2 separate regions of the Homo sapiens genome follow, and region 1 is linked to region 2. Evidence: promoter capture Hi-C in human tissues and cell types (Jung and others, 2019). All regions are on one chromosome and are shown on one strand. Each heading gives the region's core, a stretch centred on a gene start or on the middle of the fragment in contact. The rest is flanking DNA. Distances are from core to core; before and after follow the strand shown.

What was found. Contacts are between HindIII fragments. The study calls those that stand out against the background at their distance.
Region 1: a fragment that was not itself captured here is called in contact with the fragment with the promoter of CRYGA in region 2 in 1 of the 25 tissues and cell types used here (stomach).

What each region holds. Positions count from the first base shown.
Region 1 is chr2:209,199,079-209,205,606 of GRCh38, reverse strand. No RefSeq gene overlaps it. Among named protein-coding and RNA genes, the nearest start is that of MAP2, 220 kb to the left of the region's middle. The HindIII fragment of the contact is 7,431 bases long and covers 1,139-6,528 here.
Region 2 is chr2:208,161,225-208,167,091 of GRCh38, reverse strand. It overlaps CRYGA (crystallin gamma A), which reads left to right and starts at 3,503. Exons shown (of 3, transcript NM_014617.4): 1 at 3,503-3,544; 2 at 3,646-3,888. The coding sequence starts at 3,536. It overlaps C2orf80 (chromosome 2 open reading frame 80), which reads left to right. Exons shown (of 9, transcript NM_001099334.3): 9 at 1,277-1,745. The coding sequence ends at 1,285. The HindIII fragment of the contact is 14,122 bases long and covers 1-5,867 here.

The DNA of each region.
Region 1 (6,528 bases), core at 3,605-6,104, 1.0 Mb before region 2:
GCATCTCTTCACATTTTAAAATACCACTCTTGTCTTTAAACTCACATGCAGAGCAAACTGATGAGGTTTTACCGGCCCAAACAAAGAAAATGAAAGATTTCAAGAAAAGAAATATAATAAACACAATGGCCCAGACTATGGGCTACACTGTTAGACAGTTGAATTTTAGTGTAGTTGTGCCACATACTAGTGATGAATCTCTATGTTACCTAACCCCTCCAAAAACTCAGTTCTTCTTCTGTAAGGTGCTAATGGCAAGAGAAAATTTCATTGGAATGCTGTGAGGATTACATGAAATGACCCATGAAAAGTATTTAGTCAGTGCCTGCTAGGTAATAATCATATAGAAAGTATTAGTCATTATTAATCACTATCATTATCATTTCTCTTTTATATATTAATTGGTTTTAACCAGTATGAAAGAATTCTCTGTATTATTTTATTAATATTGATCTAATATCCAGCACTGGTCTATAAAAAGAAGAAAAAAGAGATTTCTCTTTCTTCCTGATATATGTAGTATGTATATTGCTTATTTATATTTTTTCTAGTCTTATTGCTTTGCTTTGGTAGGACTACGGTACAATGTTGAAATGTGGTGGTTACCACGGGCATCTTGATCTCTTTTTTACTTTAGTATAGGATTTCTAAAATTATACCATTAAATATCTTTTAAATACTTTTGCATACTTTTTTGGTAGCCATAATATCATTTCTATACCTTATTTGGCTAAATGTAAGAGAAGTTTTGAATTACTGTAAGACATATAATTTTGAATTTAAAATTTATAAAATTTAAGTTGGAATTACAAAAATGCATCATGTTTTGAACATAAATGATTTCTATTACTTATGTAAATGATATTGTGCTCCTACTCCAGATTTTGAGCTAAGGGCAACAGTTGATTCTTAATAATTTGTTCACTGTGATTGGCATCTTCTAAATGCTCATCAAATATTAGATGAAGTCTGTATGACTGCAGCTCTAAAGCCTTCAGATTGGCAATTTTTGACTATATTTTTTAGTAAGCTCAGGCTGCCATAATATAATACCACAAACTGAGTGGCTTAAACAGAAATTAATTTTCTCATGGTTCTGGAGGCTTGCAAAGTTCAAGATCAATTGCTAGTAAATTCATTTCCGGTGAAGGCTCTATTTCTGAGTTGCAAATGGCTGGTTTTTATCTGTATTTTCATATGGTAGAGAAAGAGCTCTGGTGCCTCTTCATCTTATTATAAAGGCATCAGCCCTATCTGGTTAGTGTCCCACCATTATAACCTCATTTAACCCTTATCATCTCACAGTTCTTGTCTACAAATACACCCACATTGTGGTTTCAACATATACATTTTGATGGGACACAAACATTCAATCCATAACATTATCAAATAAATGGGTATGAAATTCTTGGTAATGATAAGATACAGATCAGTAGAAAATTAAAATACAGAAAACAAATCAACAAACAACTTTAAATACTTTTTGACTCTATAGTTAGCTGGTAAAATAGGTATAGATCTTAAGTGTAAAATGTCTTTCATGAGAGCCTGTTGCCTCTACTTGATTTACAGCAAATTTGTGCAACCCACAGCTTGCGGTCCGCATGTGGCCCAGGATGGCTTTGAATATGGCCCAACACAAATTTGTAATATTTCTTAAAACATTATGAGTTTTTGGCAATTTTTTTAGCTCATTAGGTTTTGTTAGTGTTAGTATGAGTGGCCCGAGACAATTTTTTTCCAGTGTGGTTCAGGGAAGCCAAAAGTTCGGACACCCCTGATTTACAGTAAATTATGAACTAATGAAAATTTCTTAATAATTGTCACTTGCATTACTTACCATTATACATGTCACTTGCCTTAAGTGGTTAGGTTGGCTCTGTTTTCTATTAGAGAGAGTTTTTGGGTCACTTTTATTTGGTTCATATTTGAACCAATTGAGTGGGCATGAGATATATGTGAGCTTGCACATTTTTCTGCCTACACTACAAAGAATGTAGTTTCTACAGTTTCACAAAGATGCTCACACATATAATGAGTTCCTTGTTGTGGGAAGTCAGGGACCCCGAATGGAGGGACCAGCTGAAGCCATGGCAGAAGAACGTGGATTGTGAAGATTTCATGGACATTTATTAGTTCCCCAAATTAATACTTTTATAATTTCTTATGCCTGTCTTTACTGCAATCTCTGAACATAAATTGTGAAGATTTCATGGACACTTATCACTTCCCTAGTCAATACCCTTGTGACTTCCTATGCCTGTCTTTAATCTCTTAATCCCATCATCTTCCTAAAATGAGGAGGATGTATGTCACCTCAGGACCCTGTGATGATTGCCTGCACAAATTTTTTGTAGAGCATGTGTGTTTGAACAATATGAAATCTGGGCACCTTGAAAAAAGAACAGGATAACAGCAATGTTCAGTGAACAAGAGAGATAACCTTAAACTCTGACTGCCGGTGAGCTGGGTGGAACAGAGCCATATTTCTCTTCTTTCAAAAGCAAATGGGAGAAATATCACTGAATTCTTTTTCTCAGCAAGGAACATCCCTGAGAAAGAGAATGCGTCCCTGAGGGTAGGCCTCTGAAATGGCTGCTTCGTGGGCGGCCATCTTTTATGGTTGCAGCTGTAGGGATGAAATAAGCCCCAGTCTCCCATAGCGCTCCCAGGCTTATTAGGACGAGGAAATTCCCACCTCATAAGTTTTGGTCAGATCGGTTGTCTGCTCTCAAACCCTGTCTCCTGATAAGATGTTATCAATGACAATGCATGCCCGAAACTTCATTAGCAATTCTAATTTTGCCCCGGTCCTGTGGTCCTGTCATCTCGCCCTGCCTCCATTTGCCTTGTGATATTCTATTACCTTGTGAAGCATGTGATCTCTGTGACCCACACCCTATTCGTACACTCCCTCCCCTTTTGAAAATCACTGATAAAAACTTGCTGGTTTTACGGCTCAGGGGGCATCACGGAACCTGCCGACATGTGATGTCTCCCCCGGACACCCAGCTTTTAAATTTCTCTCTTTTGTGCTCTGTCCCTTTATTTCTCAGACTGGCCAACACTTAGGGAAAATGGAAAAGAACTTACGTGAAATATCGGGGGCGAATTTCACCCGATATCTGGCTGAATTTCCCCTGATAGTTCCTAAATGTAACTTCTAGTCTCATCACATATTCTGGCAGTTCATTTCCTGGATGAGTAAAATCTGCAAGACAAATAAGTTTTTAATAGCCTGTGGTCATCATGTACACAAAACTTCAGTTCATTTTTTATATTGACTGATATGGCCTACAGATATCTGAAAGCCTGAAGAAATCTTAAATAGAAAGAATGTTCACAGAACTCTCTGGTACTTTTCCTGCAAGACAAAAAAAAAAGTCTAACAAATGAACTCCAAGTACTTTGTACAGCACCATTACGCACCAGATTGGTAATATTAGTAAAGGAATTAAGTTTATAGGCCTATTGCCTTTGGTACCACACACGGAAGTTGTCATATAACTACTTGTGTCACAAATCCTTGAAAATGTATTATATCTCTTAAGTTACCTGGTGGCTATAATCTTGGCTTTATCCATCTACCTTCTGCCATGGTGCCCATAGAGAGTGCTTTGCTATATGTATGTGGAATGAATGAACTCAATTGTCCTTGCCAATGCAGCAGTTTAATTTGGTCTAGGATGTAGGTAAACAACTGGCTAAAGGATTTTCCTCATGTAAAGTTCTTTTTTACCTATGTCTTCTAATTTTCAAAACAACAGATATCTATTAACTAATATTAAAATACTTATAATAGTTTTATAACATTGTTTTTATTATTAATTTATGCTTAAATGTACCTTCAAATAAAAATAAGCATTTATATTTGCTGTCCCATAAAATCAGTACCTTTCCTTTCATGAATGCTGGTTTATGAGGATTCCCTTCCTCCAAAAATTGCTAGTTGATGGGGTACTTTGATCTAAAATGAAAGCCTAAACCAGAGCATTTTAAAATCAGTCTTCTGAATTTCAACAAAGAAAATATTGTAAATTTAAAATAACAATTATTTTCAAAATTTCTGGGCATCGTAAAAAATAATTTTAAAATATTATTAAAAATTTGAATGGAAATTTGCTTTCTTCAAAAAAAGTTGTAAGTTTAAAAGCGGCAAAGCCTCAAGAATTTAAACATTACCTTCCAAAGCTCAAGACCATCTTCAGAATGCATATATAACACATTTTCAGTGAAAAATAGGTTGATAAAATCTCATTTTGAAGAAGATATTCTAAAGGCCATCTCGTCTGCCTTCTTATTCTGAGCTCCAAGAAGGTTGGGACCAAATCTGTTTTGTTCCAGATTATGTCTCCAATGCCTAGTATAACAACCTTCCACAACCGTTAATACTTATTAGAGTAACTACATTTCAAGCATTGTTCTGGGTGCTGAGGATAAAGTGGTTAGCCAAAGCAGACATAGCCTCTCTTCTCATGGAGTTTTAGGCTAGTGTGTGAGACTGACCTTAACCAAATGTTACCTGTACTGAGAATCTGTGTTTTTCCTGTCCAGCCATTATTACCCTAGGATGTCCCCCGATTTAGTTTTGGGCATCTACTCTGATTCCATGGATAGGGTCTTGGCGGATCTGTCAAACAAAGTGCCTTCTCTTTCCCTTCCCTGAAAATGAGAATATGACTCAAGGTAAGCCACTCAGAACCACTCTTCCTGGAATTTTCATTTTGAAAAAACATGGTAATATTGAAGCTTTAAAATAATAGGGTATTAACATAATAATAAAGTCCCGAAGGAGCTGCTTCCTAGAAGTGTTAATAAGCTAGGGAAGCGTAAGAATGAGCTGGAAGAGAGGGAAGTAGAACACTTCAGGCAGAAGCATGTACAAATATCCTATGGCAGTAGGGAGAATAGAGATAAAAAGATCTGTAAGGTGAGTGTTGTAGAAGCCCTAAGAGCCATAGGGAACCTGGTGCAAAATGAGGCTGAAGGGAAGGGTATGGGGCCAGAATTTGAGGCCCTGTAGGCCACTTAAACATGTTTGATTTTTTTATCTAAAAGCAACAAGACTTTGGAGTGTTTCAAACAAAGGAGGTGAGGGGAGCCAATGTACATATCCAAAAATGTTCTTCCAGTATATGGAGTGTAAATGTTCAGAAGGCAATAATATAAACTGGAGCCAACTTTATTGAGGGCAGGCTATGCTCCAGGCACTATTCAAAAAGATTTGCAAATAATAATTCACTTACGCCTCATAACAGCACTGTGAGGTAAGCAGTATTATCATCTACATTTTTAAATTCACTTATGCCTCATGACAGTACTATTAGGTAAGTAGTATTATCATCTACATTTTTAAATTCACTTACGCCTCGTAACAGCACTATGAGGTAAGTAGTATTATCATCTACATTTTACGGAGAAAGAATCTGAAGCCCAGAGGTTACTGAATTTGCCAAAATTCTCTACACCAATATGTAATAGAGCCAGTATTTGAACTCAAACAATCTGACTTCAGATCCTGACTTCATAATTATAAACACTAAAAAATATGTATAGTCTTATTTGAGGTTATTATTGCTATTATAATTGGCATTTTTATAACCTATGAAATTTTAAAAATTGTCATAAAATAAGCCTAGCATAATATTTAACATTTTAACCATTTTCAAGTGTATAGATTAGTGGGATAAGAACATACATATTGCTGTGCAACTATCACCATCATTCATCTCCAGAATATTTTTCTTCTTCCAAAATTGAGATTTTTTGCCCATTACATAACAACTCCTCATTCTCCTCTTCCTCCAGACCCTGGAAACCACCATTCTACTTTTTGGTTCTATGATTTTGACTATTCTAAGTACTAAGTAAGTAGAATCATGCAGTATTTGTCTTTTTGTGACTAGTTTGTTTCACTTAGCATAATACCTGGAAGGTTCATTCATGCTGTAGAATATGTCAGAGTATCCTTCCTTTTTAAGGCTGTATAGTATTCCATTTCATATCCATACTACATTTTGCTTATTCTTCCATCTACCCCTGAATACTTGGGTTGCTTCCACATTTTAGCTATTGTGAGTAATGCTAAACATGAACATGAGTGTGCAAATGTCTCTTTGAGACCCTGCTTTCAATTCTTTTGAGTATATACCCATAAGTTGAATTGCTAGATCAAATGGTGGTTCTATTTATAATTTATTGAGAAACTGCCATACTGTTTTCGACAGCAGCACCACCATTTACATTCCCACTATGGCGCATCAGGGTTTCAAGTCCTTTACATTTTGCCAACAGTTATCTTCTGTTTTTTGATAGTAGCCATCCTAATGAGTGTGAGGTAGTGTTTCATTGCAGTTTTTGTTTGCATTACCGTAATGATTAGTGATGTTAATCACCTTTACATGTACTTATTGGGCATGTGTATATCTTTTGCATCAGGTGGCTTTTGTTGTCACTGAGTTTTAGAAGTTCTTTATATATACGGCTATTAATTCCTTGTCATATATATGATTTGCAAATAGTTGATCC
Region 2 (5,867 bases), core at 2,254-4,753:
TAATAACTTGAGTGAGTTACCTAATCTCTCTGTGCTTTTAGTTTTTCATCTCTTTAAAAAGTCATAATAGTACCTACCTCATAGGGTTGTTATAAGCATTAAATAAGTTATATGTGTAAAGGCTTAGAAAAGTGTCAGGACAGGCCAGGCATGGTGGCTCACGCCTGTAATCCCAGCACTTTGGGAAGCCGAGGCGGGCGGATCACGAGGTCAGGAGATCAAGACCATCCTGGCTAACATGGTGAAACCCCATCTCTACTAAAAAATAGAAAAAATTAGTTGGGCGTGGTGGCGCCTGTAGTCCCAGCTACTTGGAGGCTGAGGCAGGAGAATGGCATGAACCCAGGAGGCGGAGCTTGCAGTGAGCCGAGATCCCGCCACTGCATGCACTCCAGCCTGGGTGACAGAGTGAGACACCGTCTCAAAAAAAAAAAGTGTCAGGACAGTGGCAAGCAATAATATAATCGCTCTCTTCATCACCACTCATGAGAAATTCATGCTATCATGAAAGGAAATGAGACATAGAGAGAGGACAATTTAAATTTAAATCCAAAGCAATACATCAGAAATTCAAAATAATATCCTACAAGCATAATACATAACTGCTAAAAGGCCAAAAACTGATTTGCTTTGGGTAGGATTGGTTAAGAGAAGTATAACTTTTTAATGTAAAAATAATTTCAAACTTAGAGAAAATTTGCAAGAATAATATACAAAGAACCCACGTATTCCTTTTATACAGTCACGAATGGTTAATGTTTTGTTCTGTTAGCTTTATTATATTCTGTCTTTGTCTCTCTGTATATAGATAAAGATATATAATTTTTTTCTGAGCCATTAGAAGTTATGTATATATACTCTACCACTTTACTCTATGTACCTCTGTGTGTATTTCTTAAGAACAAAGTAATTCTCTTAAATAACCATAGAATAGTTATCAACTTCAGAATATCTATTATTGGTACTTTTATTTAATGTACTCTCTATACACCAATTTTGTCAATTGACCCAATAATGTTCTTTTTAAGCATTTTTTTCCTTCTGTATAAGATCCAGTATGGGATCACATATTGCATTTAGTTGGGAAATATAACTCAATTTCCAAATATATCAGAATAATTCCATGAAAATTCCTTTGTAATTACATTAATCTAATCTATCTTTGTCAGTAAGTTAGTATCTGATATTTGACCTTAACTTCCTATAGACTTAAAGTAATGTCTGTGTCCATGTTAAATTGATGTGCTTGATACCAAAATCATCTTTTATTCTGCAGGTCACTTAGAAAATTGGAATTGTACCATGGAACTTCATAATAGATTCTCTGGGAGCAGACGAGAAGCATCATCTTAAAACCACAGCTCTTGCCAGTACATTTTTCTTTACAACTGTTTTTGGTACAACTGCACTGAAGTGTTATTTTTGATGTTGAGCTTTCTTCTTTTAGAAGCATATTGCATGGCTACATTTTCTTAAAAAAAAAAACTGTGACCTTATGCTACTTCATTGTGACTGGAAGACTGCTGGAGAATTCAGAAAGTATATAGTATTTCTGTGTTAGAGCAAGCTGGCTTTGTAGCACATTTTACAAATGTGTGGCATTGAATATTGCACAGTGATGGAGTGGGAGGCAGATTTCCAAAGAGTTAATCCAAAATAAAATTAATCTGTCATTGATTGCCTTTACTGTGTTCTCATATGAAAAGAATGTTTAAATCATTTCAATAAAGCATTAAAAAAATGAATACAGGCTTTCTCTCAGTAGACTATAATGACTACTAGGAGGGAAGATGTTCTGGTCTTTTAGTACCTTTCCAAAATGCTGATTAGGCACATGGCTTAGCCTATCAATGTATGTAATAACAACTTGATCACATGAATGTCAGTACACATAATACATTTCTTAAGGTTTTGGTGTGCCATCTGTCTACAGAACAGTTTTCATCAGCATGTACAAAAACACAGATGGAGATTGTAGACTTTTTCTGAAAATGGTGGTATATTCTCATGTGGGGCTGGGAGACCAATGCAGCGTTTTCCACACTGGGTTTGATTATGGTTCTAAGATTTACCAGTAAGCCTGCAGCTAATTAGGGGGAGGCAAAGGAGGGAATCAGCAACTTGCGGTCCCTGCATGCACTGCTAGGTGTTTAGCTTCATAGGACTTCACCCAGTTTTCTTTTGCCTAGCTCTGCTAGTTATGAGGAAACATTTTTTTCTCGGTAGCTACTGCTGTCTCTCCTTTTACCACCTGCGCGTTTGCCTTACATGCTGCCTGAGGATTTTCACAAATGACATTGTGAATGTGTTGCTAGCTGTGGTCAAATACTCTTTTAGAATCCCTCGGTGGGTCTAAAGCACAAAGGTGTTTGATTTCATCTTCCTACATACATGTGGAATGACAAAAGACAGTCTGGGGTTTGGAGTCTTCCTCCACACTTGCACATCTGAGGAGTACTTCTAAATCAATAAGTTGGCAGCAATGGAGAAGGCTGTTAGGCAGTCACTTGGGTTCAATGAAACAGTGATACTATTGAAAGGAAAAACACAGGCAAATCATCACGCTAATTTTAAAAAATAAAAGCAATGCTAGAAGGAGGGTGGCAGGGGGAGGGGAGTGAAATGTTCCTGTGTATTTTTCTGCTCTTCGAGCCTCTCACAGATTCTCAGGGTTTCTTTTTATTTTTAGCTCAAGAAGTGTTTAATCTCTTGATTAAATATACCTGCTTCCAGTATTTACTGCTTTTCACCAGCACCTCAAAGTCATACATTTAAAGATTGATTTTATTATTTTTTCATCTCATGAAATTGTTATATTTATAATCGAATTTTTTTTTCTGTCTGGCTGAAGATGGCAGATATAATAGAAAATTAAGAAAACAGCAGCAAAAAACAAAATATAACAACATAAAGCTAAGATCTATAATCTTGCCATTCATTGATTACCATGATTGATATGTTGGTATAGTACACACTTCTAATCTTATGTTTTCCCTACATAAATATAGGCAAAATATTTTTATCAAAACCCTATCATACTGATGAAGTCACTTAAGAAATATAATTGTCTTTCAATTAGAGGATTTTCTGTCTGGGATTTTTTTTGTTGCCTCTTCACACTTCAAGTCCTTCTGGAACGCATGTGTTCTCATAAGTGACCTCAGATGGAACCACCAACCTCCATCTCAGCAGTTTCCATAGGCAAACATTGCAGAATGCTGGGCATGTAATGCATTTCTAGTGAGCTGCATAGGATGAGAAGTGTGCCCTTTGTCTCCAAGGTCATAATGGCTCTGCTGACTTTAATACCTTTCACTGGAGCTAGTGAGGACAACTCGAAAATGCCAGAAAGAGAGAGAGCCCACTGCCCCATGATCTCAAATGAAAAAAAAAAGAGAATACAGAAATCCCCCTACGCACCACCCCCAGGTCCCTTTTGTGTTGTTTTTGCCAACACAGCAGCTTCCCTGCTATATATACCAGTTGCCCCTTTGTCCCTATCATACTAGATGCTAATCACCCTCTGTCAACAACCATGGGGAAGGTGAGCCTGTGGAGGTGCTGTGCCATGTCTATTGGGGGTCTGTGGTGTGTGGGGATGTTCCTTCCAGCTGACTGTCTACTGTCACCTTATTTCTACCTCAGATCACCTTCTACGAGGACCGAGACTTTCAGGGTCGCTGCTACAATTGCATCAGTGACTGCCCCAACCTGCGGGTCTACTTCAGCCGCTGCAACTCCATCCGAGTAGACAGCGGCTGCTGGATGCTCTATGAGCGTCCCAATTACCAGGGCCACCAGTACTTCCTGCGCCGAGGCAAGTACCCCGACTATCAGCACTGGATGGGCCTCAGCGACTCGGTCCAATCCTGCCGTATAATTCCTCATGTGAGTCTTGCTTCAACTTGACTGATGTGAAAGCATCAATGATCCATGGCCATCAATTCCTGTTTATAAAAGTCAGTTTGTTCCAACACAGGATGAGTGTTCACAGTAAGAATAGCAAGGCCTGACCCTCAAACATATATAAAAAAAAAAAGTAACAATAATCTCTATTTTTCTTACTTAAGGACATCATTTTAGGGCATGGGAAATCACAACATAGCCTTTAAATTAAACTTGGTAACATCTAGGTGATCCCTAATTTCTACATAAAAGTCACCTTATTCAGTAGTAAAAAAAAAAAAAAAGAAAGAAAGAAAAAAAAGAAAAGTCTATCTAGTTTATCTAGATAATTTTTTTTTTTGAGACAGAACTTCGCTTTCGCTCTTGTTGCCTAGGCTGGAGTGCAATGGCACAATCTCAGCTCACCACAACCCCTGCCTCCCAGGTTCAAGCGATTCTCCCGCCTCAGCCTCCCTTGTAGCTGGGATTACAGGCATGTGCCACCATGCCCAGCTAATTTTGTATTTTTAGTAGAGACAGAGTTTCTCCATGTTGGTCAGGCTGGTCTCGAACTCCCGACCTCGGCCTCCCAAAGTGCTAGGATTATAGGAATGAGCCACTGCGCCCGGCCATGATAATTATTTTTTAATGATGAAAAGTTAACAGACTATGAGATAACAATATAGGTATAATGTATTCTGACTGCATTGGAAATTTTTTTCACTACATTCTAGGACTTACTAGAACCTAGGAAAATATGTTTCAACTTGTGTGGATTTATAATTTCCAGGAGTCATTATCAACTAGTTTCTTATAAATATCAGAGACACACAATTGATTAGGATTTCATAGAACATGGTCCTCATCAAAATGCTGCTTAATCTTTTTTAATCACGTGCAGCATGTATTTACACTTTCTGTTGGCACCAAATTATGTAGTGTGACAAGGAGATTCAAGAATTGAAATCACGGCCAGGCTCAGTGGCTCACGCCCGTAATCCTAGCACTTTGGGAGGCTGAGCTGGGCAGATCACTTGAGGTCAGGAGTTCAAGACCAGCTTGGCCAACATGGTGAAACCCTGTCTCTACCAAAATACAAAACATTAGCCAGGCATGGTGGTGCATGCCTGTAGTCCTAGCTAAGCAGGAGGCTAAGACAGGAGAATTGCTTGAACCCAGGAGTCGGAGGTTGCAGTGAGCCGAGATCATGCCACTGCACTCCAGCCTGGTGACAGAGCGAGACTTCGTCTAAAAAAAAATAAAAAAATAAAAAAACAAATTTAGGCCAGAAAAATTTGCAGATGCGCAAAGAGGTATAAATAAAATAGGCATTTCTCTGGGGCAAGAAACCCAAATGGCACAAGTGACTTGGCAAAATGTCACTTGAAAATACATGTGGACTCAGTGTAAATATAAATCACTGTAAATTATAAGTGCAAAAAGTGACTCAAAAACAAGCTTGATAAGACTCAATTATATGGAGTCAAAATGGAAATGAGAGTTGAAATCCTCACTACAGACTCACTGACTACAATTGTATTGATGATTGCTTACAAAGAACACACTTTTATTCCCTGTATTTTAATGTTTGTTTCTTCCACAACATCTCCAGTTCATTGATCAGGTCAGATTCGTTTTAATATTTTCCCTAATTTGTTAGAATAACAACATTGAAAGTGGGTTCAGGGGAGAAACACTTTATCAACTGGTTTAAAAAACCATGTTTCAAACCAGGTGCAATCCCAACATTTGTAATCCCAACATTTTGGGAGGCCAAGGTGAGAGAATCACTTGAACCCAGGGATTCAAGACCAGCCTGGGCAATATAGTGAGACTCCCTCTCTACAAAAAAATTTTTAAAAATAAATTAGCCGGGTGTCACAGTGCACACCTGTGATCCCAGCTACTTGGGGGGCTGAGGTGGGAGGATTACTTAAGCCCAGGAGGTGAAAGTTGCAGTGAGCAGTGATCCTGCCACTGTA